2 separate regions of the Homo sapiens genome follow, and region 2 is linked to region 1. The links are contacts of gene promoters, found by promoter capture Hi-C in blood cells and fetal thymus (Javierre and others, 2016). All regions are on one chromosome and are shown on one strand. The core of a region is centred on a gene start or on the middle of the fragment in contact, and the rest is flanking DNA. Distances in the headings are between cores, read along the strand shown.

Region 1 (4,591 bases), core at 1,166-3,665:
CATTATCAGCCTACACAAATGCATATGTAAATGTGTATGTGAGATACACACACACACACACACACACACACACACACACACACACACACATACAAAAAAGGAATTAGACTTCATATACTGTCTTGCAAATTTCTTCTTAAAACTTAATGGATTTCTTCCACATAGGCACATTTGACCCTTGAGCAATGCCAACGTTAGGGATCCCCCTGTGCAGTGGGAACTTCACATATAATTTTAGACACCCCCAAAACTTTACTAATAGCCTACTGTTGACCAGAAGCCTTATTGATAACATAATTGTTTAACACATATTTTGTATATGTATTATATATTGTATTCTTACAGTAAAGTAAGCTAGAGAAAAGAAAATGTTAAGAAAATCAGAAGGAGGAAAAATATTTTTTCTCGCTCCATCGTTCAGGGTGGAGTGTTGTGGTCCCCTCTTGGCTCACTCTTTCTGGGCTCAGGCAATCCTTCTACCTTAGCCTCCCGAGTAGCTGGGACTAACAGGCATGTGCCACCAGGCCCAGATAATTTTTTGTATTTATTTTTAGAGACAGTAAGTAGACTGTCTTTTAAGTAAAGTAAGACTTTATTGCCCAGTAAGTAGAAAATATATTTACTATTCATTAAATGGAAGTGGATCATCATAAAGGTCTTCATCCTTGTCATCCTCATGTCGAATAGGCTGAGGAAGAGGAGGGGTTGGTCTTGCTGTCTTAAGGGTGACAGGGGCAGAAGAAAATTCACATGCAAGTCAACCCGTGCAGTTCAAATCCATGTTGTTCAAGGGTCAACTGTATTTATATATTTACTTCTGTCTTCCATATCATCTTTTGTTTACTTTAAATATTTGCAAAGCAATTTTTGTATAGACGAATGTCTCATTTTTTGTGTATGGTAAAAAACAATAGTATAAAATTTACCATCTTAACCATTTTTAAGTGTACAGTTCAATAGTGTTAAGTATATTCACATCGTTATGAAACAGATCTCCAGAACTTTCTCATCTTGCTAATCTGAAACTCTGTATCTAAATATTTCTCTTATCCCCCTCCCAAGCCACACCCCCACCCCATCTTTGGTTACTACCATTCTACTTTCTGGTTCTATGAATTCATGAATTTGACTGCATACCTCATAAAAGTGGGTTCATACAGTATTTGACTTTTTTTGTGACTGTTAGTAGATTTTTTTCTCTAATTTTTAAAATGTTTAATTCGCTCATAAGCACAGCACAGGGTATTATCCATTTGTGTGTGCATACACACATACACTCATTGTACTATGTTTATTGCAGTTAACTGAAGTCCTATGTCACTAGAATGCTATGTAACAGAAAATGTTGGTCATACCTCTTGTGATAAATATTTGTTGGGTACTTATTTTGTATCACACATTGGAAGAAAAAGATAATTAAGATACATTCCAGCCCTTGCCCTTGAGGAACTCACAATCTGATGAGAAAGGCTGATCTGCAAACCATTACCCTCAGAACAGTTAAGCTTGATGGGAATATAATGAATGAAGGTCTTAATTACCTAATTCAGAGGTATTCTTTACAGTTAAATGCATTGTAGAATGAGACTGTCTTGGCAGTTCAAAAATCAGACTGTTTTAATCTGAATCCATTTTTTACTTGGCAACTTTATTTATTTATCTACCCCGCCCCCACCCAAGTAAGGAAAAGATACTTGGCAACTTTAGCTTAGGGTTCTCTAAAACCTTCAGAATAAGAGTAACCTGAGTCTGCTCCCTGGTGGAGCAATCTTCATAACTGTTCTTTGGATTCTTAAATTTCTGCTTTATTCCTGTTGTGGATAGGAGAAATTGGGTTACTTACAAATGGTCTTTAAGCTTACTACATTGATTCCTGTACTGATCTGATGATGGCCCAAGGCTTTAAGGAGGTGTGTTGATTCATCTAAATTAGGTGGAGTAATATGGACTTAAAAAAAGCACATATCTTTCCTGTTGGTATGATGGGAGACACAAAATGCAGTCAAACCTTGTAAACTAGGATTCAGGACAAACTCCTCCTACAAAAAGAAAATTAAAACTAGTTGCTAACCTTTGGAGATCTCAGAGACTAGGACTTAACTCCTTGAAATATTAATGCCGTTTCTACTACAATTTTCTTAAGAACTCTTCATATTAAATTAGATGATTGCACATTACAATTGTATTGGCATGCAAGATTACTTACATAGACTTGTACATTTATTTACGTTGACTTTTAGGTCAATTTTTGAAAGATCACATTTTACACACAAGATGGGGAAGGTTATTTTTCTTTTTTTCTTTTATAGAGGTATGGTTTTGGTTAGTTGTTCAGGGTGGAGTGCTGTGGTGCAGTCTGGCTCACTGCAGCCTAGTCCTGGGCTCAGGATCCTCCCACCTCAGCCTCCGGAGTAGCTGGGACTAGTCTTGTACCACCATGCCCAGCTAATTTTTTATTTTTTGTAGAGATGGGGTCTCACTTTGTTGCCCAGGCTGGTATTTTTCTATTTCACCTTCTATTACCTTCCTGCCCATCTTGTATCATTGTCCAGGATTCCTCCAGTTTTGTAAAGAACGAATTCCGTGAAAAGGTGAGGTGGAGCATTGTAGGATCTTTTCCAGGCCTTTGAGTTGCCATTTGAAGAACTGCTCGAGTCCAAAGGAGGTTAATGAAGTAAGCAGCTTACATATAATGAGGGGCTATGTATCTACCTTGATGCTTTGGCTGTTACCTGCAGTAATTTTTTTCACCCTTGGAGGAGGGATTAGGATTGTGATAGTGGGAACTGGTCATCTCCTTTGTTTCTGGAATATTACGTGTAATACTACCAAAAAAAGAGGTCCACCCAACTGCAGTAGTCTTCCTAGTTGGTCCATCATTTGCCTCTTGCCTGGGAAAGCCTAGGACCTAGAAGCAGCGCCTGAGGCCTGCAAACCTCTGGGCGAAGATACACTGCGGCCCCTTTAAGCTTTCAGAGTGTGCGGAGAGGGGAGCTGAGGGTGGGGCGGGCACTCTGACAGTGGCGCTCCGGGCCCCGCCCTCGGAGGAGGCGTTTCCCAGCGGACCGCAGCACCAATGCTGCTGCCGCCGCCGCCGCCGCCTGCCGGGTATTCCTGCTGATCCTGCTCGGACCTTAGCTTCCCTGACCTCTCCCTGCCCGGGGAGCGTAAGTGTCAAACCACGGGCAAAGGGCAAGCATCCCGCGACCGTGCTGCAAGTCCTGGTGGACAGTACTGGGGACTTTGCTGGCCTATCAGAGGCTAAGGCGGCGAAAGAGCGTAAACAATGCCGGCTCCAGTGAGCTAAAGCCAGGGTATCTGCTCTACTTCTGGGTGGTGACAGCAGCCGTAGGGTGCTTGTTTGGGCATGCAGTGGGTGAGCAGTGCCCACGACCTGGCTTTGCCCCCACCTGGTTCTTACTTGGGGTGAGGAGAGGGTTGCTTTTACCAGAGTATAACCCATTTGAGCTGAATGGGTGGAGCTGAATCTCTCTCTCTGGGCCTTGGATCCTTACCCTGGTATTTGAAGACCTTGGTAGCTTTGGGATGAGTAAGCATTAGGTTTTCAGCTACCTTGGTACAGTCGAGCAGTAACTCCAAGTTGTCCTAATTCACAGCCAGGTTTAGCTGTCTCTCCAGAGGCCTGTGTTGGTGGTATCCCGTACCCCTTTTGGATATGTTGACAGTGAACATCTCTTAGGAAGAGTCCAGTTAACCTTTCCTCCTGATATAAAGAGCACAATGTGAAAGAGACAGCTCTTTACCCCTCTCCATCTCTGAAGGAATTTGTGGGACGCCACTGTCCCAAGATTAGGAAAGCAAACACACCAAAGTTTGAGATAATCTGCTAGAAAACTGTTCAGATTTCTGGCCGCCTGGTAATGCAGAATACTCCGGCAAGAGGATAACACTTGTCCTTGTTAATGGGAAATACCTGGAGACAGTGAGTTTTTTTTTTAATTTGAGGGAAAGTGTTGTCATTTTTGCCACCTGCTACTCAGAGATGGGATTTTGTCAGATTTTGGTTAAATAATAAAAATCTTAAGTTTTCTATGACAGTTACATAGTTGTTGTGTTTCTTTAATCCAGTTGTCCTTCCTAGACATGGTTTGAGTAGATTTCTGGGCATGTGTATGCATTGCTTTTTTAAAAAAATAATTTCTTTTTTTTTTTTTATGAGCCTATCATCACACTCAGTGGTCATTCAAATGGGTTGCTTTTTGATGGAGCAGAAGTTTTTCTCAAACTTCTGTTAAAATCATTCTGTGCTTCTGCAATAGCATCTCCTTAGCCAGAGGTGAGAGTCCAGGAATGGTAATCAAATTCAGATCTCTTGTATTGTGATAGTGAAGAGCTTTTGTAGGTCAAGAGCTTGGGAATTTGCCATAAAAAAGTCATACTGCCAGTGGTTTTTCTCTAAGTAGAAGAGAAAATAATCTGTACAGTAGCTCTGTAATTACTCTTATAGACTATCAAAATACAGGAATTTAAACTAAAAAGACACCACACTTGGGCCCATGGGTTGTAGGGAAGAGAGACAGACTGAGAAGTAGGAGACATAGGTTCTAGGCCCAGCTCTAGTATTACTCAT
Region 2 (4,789 bases), core at 582-3,081, 420 kb before region 1:
GAGAGGTGCAAAATTTTCATGTGATTCATAAAGGGGCTTGTGATTAAATAAGAAGGTTAAGAACTGTTTGGCTACCCAGGCTTTGGCTCTTACTCTATTTGCTTCTTGGCCTCCTCCATGACAACTCTGGAAGCAAAGTTTAAATCCTGAAGTATATATAAATAATTGAATCTGGAGTCCTAGGACAAAATAAAGACAGATAATCCTGATCTTTTTTTTTCTTTTCTTCTTTTTGAGACACAGTCTTGCTCTGTCATCTAGACTGGAGTGCAGTTGCACCATCATGGCTCACTGCAGCCTCAACCTCCTGGGCTGAAGGTGATCCTCCCACCTCAGCCTCCCGAGGAGCTAGGACCACAGGTGTGTGCCACCACACCCAGCTAATTTTTAAACTTTTTTTTGTAGAGAGGAGATCTTCCTAAGCTGCTCAGGCTGGTCTCCAACTCCTGGGCTCAAGCAATCTTCCCACCCTGGCCTCCCAAAGTGCTGGGATTAGAAACGTGAGCCACCACACCAAGCCTAATCAGGTTTTTGTTGTTGTTGTTTTGAGACAGTCTCACTCTGTCGCGCAGGCTGGAGTGCAGTGGCGTGATCTCAGCTCACTGCAACCTCCGCTTTCCGAGTTCAAGCGATTCTCCTGCCTCAGCCTCCAGAGTAGCTGGGATTACAGGAGCACGCCACTGCACCCGGCTAATTTTTTTTTTTTTGTATTTTTAGTAGAGACGGGGTTTCGCCACGTTGGCCAGGCTGGTCTCGAACTCCTGACCTCAGGTGATCTGCCTGCTTCGGCCTCTCAAAGTGCTGGTATTACAGGTGAGCCACGGCGCCCAGGCCAAGCCTGATCAGTTTTGTTTCCCAAAGATCTGAGGAGATTTGCTTCCAGTAGGCAGATCTGAATCAAAGCATCCCCAGGACCTATGATCTGACCTGCAACCGTCACAGGAGTCACAAAGTCCTGAGGCCAAACTGGCTGCACCTGAATCCTAATGGTCAATGCCAAGAGGGCCATTGATTCTGTGGAAACCCCACCTACTCCCACTTTATGATATGCGCCTGTCCCTTACCTCAAAATACCTCCCCACTGGTCTGAAATTCCTCCCCCAGGGATTCAGTGCTTTGGGTTTGTAAAGTCTGAACATCCTGTGCAACCCAACTCCTTTGGGAAGAGGCATGACATGACGTCTTGACTCTAATTAACTAAAACTTGGAAGTGGAGGGGAGGGAGGACAGGGAAAGGACTGGAAGGGAAAGTGAGAGGGCTACTGAAGCTTTGTGCAGGGCAGGAACGGTAGGCCAGACTGGGGCAACCTCAAGGACACACGGAGTCCAAAGGGTTGTTTACATACTGTGTCCTGCACCCCAAGCAAAACATCTCCTGGAGAACAGGGCCAGGGCTCAATCTCCCCACAAAGGCAGGGGCGTGGAGAGAAGCGACCTCTACTTTCCCATCCCTCGCCTCAATTCTGCACCCGATCTAGCTATGGGGTCAAGCCTGGAGGGGACGCTGGTTCTCCAGACATGGTCCCGCCCACTGCAAGTGCCACCTTGGTAAGGGATTTCTCCGAGCAGAGGCAAACGCGAATTTGTGGCCTTCTTAATCAAGATGAGGTCTTCGAGCCCTGTCTGCCGCGCCAGGTCGCGTTACCTTCTTATGCTCCTCCGCCACAGCCAGACCACGACCCTCCTGCACGCAATCCCACCGAGACTGCGCCTTTTCCCCGCACCCCAGCAGGTCCCTAAGTAAGATGGCGGCGAACGCACTTCCGGCGTGTGTCCTTACGGGTGCGTCCGGGCGGCTGCTTGCAGGTGCCACCCAGCGGGTTCCAGCTTGTTTGCTGCATAGATTACAACGGTGATGGCGGGCAAGCGGTCCGGCTGGAGCCGGGCGGCTCTCCTCCAGCTCCTTCTCGGCGTGAACCTGGTGGTGATGCCGCCCACCCGGGCCCGGAGTCTGCGCTTCGTTACCTTGGTAATGAGAGATGGGCTCACCAAAGACTTCCCTGAAGCTAAAAGGGCAAAGGCCAGCTGGTGGAGGTCGAGGATCTCGGGAAGGAACAGCTGGTTTAGGAGGGGACGACTGGCCTGGGTAGTTGGGAGGCTGGATTCAGGATTGACCTGGAGCCCTGGCTTATGGGAGTCAGGATGACCGAATACGTCGGGGTGAGTCTGCCTTGAGACAGGGAAGTGGTTGAATGGTTAAGACTCATCCCTAAAGAAGCCTTTGGTTATCTTTTTTCCCCAGTTGTCCCCACCACATACGTTGCTTTCACTTCTCTTTTCCCTTCCTACCTGTACCTTGGCTTTGCCTATGGTCTCCAGTAGCATTGCTTAGCTAAGTTAGAATCTCTGGAATCTGGAAGAAGTGACTGACTCCTAGCTGGGGTCTTTTGCAGCCAGTAGGCTTCCCAGAGGGAATGAGACTTCCTTCCCTAACATGGGGCAAAAGGTAGGCTCTGGGTCCCTATCAAGGGGATGCTTCTGACCTATAGGCAAACCATTTTATTCTCTCAGCTGTACCGCCATGGAGACCGTTCACCAGTGAAGACATATCCCAAGGACCCCTATCAGGAAGAAGAATGGCCCCAGGGGTTTGGTCAGTTAACCAAGGTGGGTCAGAAGCCAGCCTTTCCTCAGGATGAGCTGCAGAATGAGCGACGTCTAGAGCAGTCTACAAAACTTGGGGTCCTACTAAACTGCCTTTTCCCATATGGGTGCTGACTTTGACCAGATTTCATAACCTTAATCTCTGTGCCCATGATATTGCTGTGCATGACTGGCCACTTAATGAAAGACTTCTGGGATCAGATTAATTGACTCCAGCAAAGCGTGAACCTGGAAAGCAACAGGGCCTAAACCCCATGGGGCTTGAAGCCACCCCTTCCCTCTAGACCCTCTTAACCCTTGGGTTTGCCCACAGGAGGGGATGCTACAGCACTGGGAACTGGGCCAGGCCCTGCGGCAGCGCTATCACGGCTTCCTAAACACCTCTTATCACCGGCAAGAGGTAAGGTTGGGAGCTCCAGAGGCAAGGGGAACAAGGTATGCTGCCCTCATCTTTTGCCCTCAGGGAGCCTAAGGCTGAGGCTGGGCACTTTGGCCTCCTTCTTGTATTTTTGGTCACAACTACAGGAAAAGACATCTGAGAGCTGTCTGGAACAAAGCCCTAGGAGCTGAGTTGCCCCTGCTTGGCTGGGATGAGGCAAATTTGATTAAGCATCCAAATTCGGACTTAAGGGCGGGCCTGGCAAAGTGGTTTCTGACTGTGAAATCACAGGCTTTCCATCCAAGACATTGAGTACCTATTAAAGGCCAAGGACTGTGCTAGCACTTTGCATTCAGTTGTGCACCATACAGATATGATCTCTGTCTTCATGGAGCTTAGAATGTTGTGGGGGTATCTAATGATAAACCAGACAGGGCCAAGATGAAAGACAGCGGGGAAGACATGCGTAGAGAGGGCTTGTCTTTTCTTGATCAAGATGAGGTTTTTGAGCCCTGTCTGCTGCGCCAGGTCGTGCTATATTCCTAGGGCACATCAGGGAGGACTGGTGAGTGTGCCTGCTCCTTGAGTCTTCGCCCCACCCCAGGAATGGGGGAAGCTGTTCCTCTGATTACCACTGTCAGCCTCAGCCGTATCAAGAATCCATAGACATTGTTATTGTTCTCTTAAGGCCCAGCTCTGTCCTGAGCTTGTCCTTCCCCAGTTTCCTCCTCCCTTTTCATGAGCCACTATCTCTGAATAAGCTCTTCAAAAAAAATTTTTTTTTTTGAGACAGAGTCTTGCTGTGTTGCTCAGGCTGGAGTGCAGTGACATGGTCTTGGCTCACTGCAACCTCCACCTCCTAGGTTCAAGCGATTCTCCTGTCTCAGCCTCCCAAGTAGCTGGGATTACAGGTGTGTGCCACCATGCCTGGCTAATTTTTGTATTTTTAGTAGAGACAGGATTTCATCATGTTGGCCAGGCTGGTCTTGAACTCCTGACCTCAGCTGATCCGCCTGCCTCGGCCTCCTAAAGTGCTGGGATTACAGGCATGAGCCACCGTGCCCGGCCCAAAATATATACATATATTTTAAAGGGGTCTCACTCTGTCACCCAAACTGTAGCACATGCCTCAGTCATAGCTCACTGCAGCCTCAAACTCCTGGGCTCAAGTGATCCTCCTGCCTCAGCATCCCAAGTAGCTGGGACTACAAGTGCCCGCCACACTTGGGTAATTAAAAAATTTTTTTTTGTAGAGACAGGGTCTCACTATGTTGCCCAGGCTGGTCTCGAGCTCCTGGCCTCAAGCGATCCTCCTGCATTGGCCTCCCAAAGTGCTAGGATTATAGGTGTGAGCCACCAGGCCCAGCCCTTTATCTTATTTTTTTCTCCCTGGTCTCTAAGGGTCGTCACTGGAGCCAGTTTCTGCCCCAAGGACCCTGATCTAGACAGGGAGAGAGGTGTTGTTATGAAACCAGACAGACCAGAGAGCCTTACTGATTGACTCAGCACTTTTGACTGGAAGGGGCATTTCAACTAAGGCCATTCCCACAAGAGTTCTTCACAGAGTGGTGACAACCCCCAGTGGAGTGTTTGGGGGATGGGGAAGGCCAGAGGCCAGAGGAGGGTGAGGGCCAGATGTATGGTAGGTTTAGTTTGCTGGGTGACCATCAGGAACAGGTTCTCCTCTGGGGCTCCACTTTGGGGTGACCAAAACTTCCCACCACACACACACACATACATACAAGGCTCCACTTCAGGGTGACCAAAACTTCCCCAACACACACACACACACACACACACACACGA

The links. Contacts are between HindIII fragments. The CHiCAGO score rates a contact against its expected background, and 5 or more counts as called.
Region 2: a contact is called between the fragment with the promoter of ACP2 here and a fragment that was not itself captured in region 1, in 1 of 17 cell types (erythroblasts). The highest score is 5.2, in erythroblasts.

The regions. Positions count from the first base shown.
Region 1 is chr11:46,825,338-46,829,928 of GRCh38, reverse strand. All of the region lies in intron 1 of CKAP5 (cytoskeleton associated protein 5), which reads left to right. Among named protein-coding and RNA genes, the nearest start is that of CKAP5, 19 kb to the left of the region's middle. RefSeq lists enhancers at 2,641-3,191, 3,192-3,744. The HindIII fragment of the contact is 1,112 bases long and covers 1,860-2,971 here.
Region 2 is chr11:47,245,856-47,250,644 of GRCh38, reverse strand. It overlaps ACP2 (acid phosphatase 2, lysosomal), which reads left to right and starts at 1,831. Exons shown (of 11, transcript NM_001610.4): 1 at 1,831-1,969; 2 at 2,512-2,607; 3 at 2,918-3,004. The coding sequence starts at 1,856. It also overlaps a transcript of NR1H3 not described here. RefSeq lists a silencer at 1,388-1,555 and enhancers at 1,636-2,145, 2,276-2,365. The HindIII fragment of the contact is 7,782 bases long and covers 1,271-4,789 here.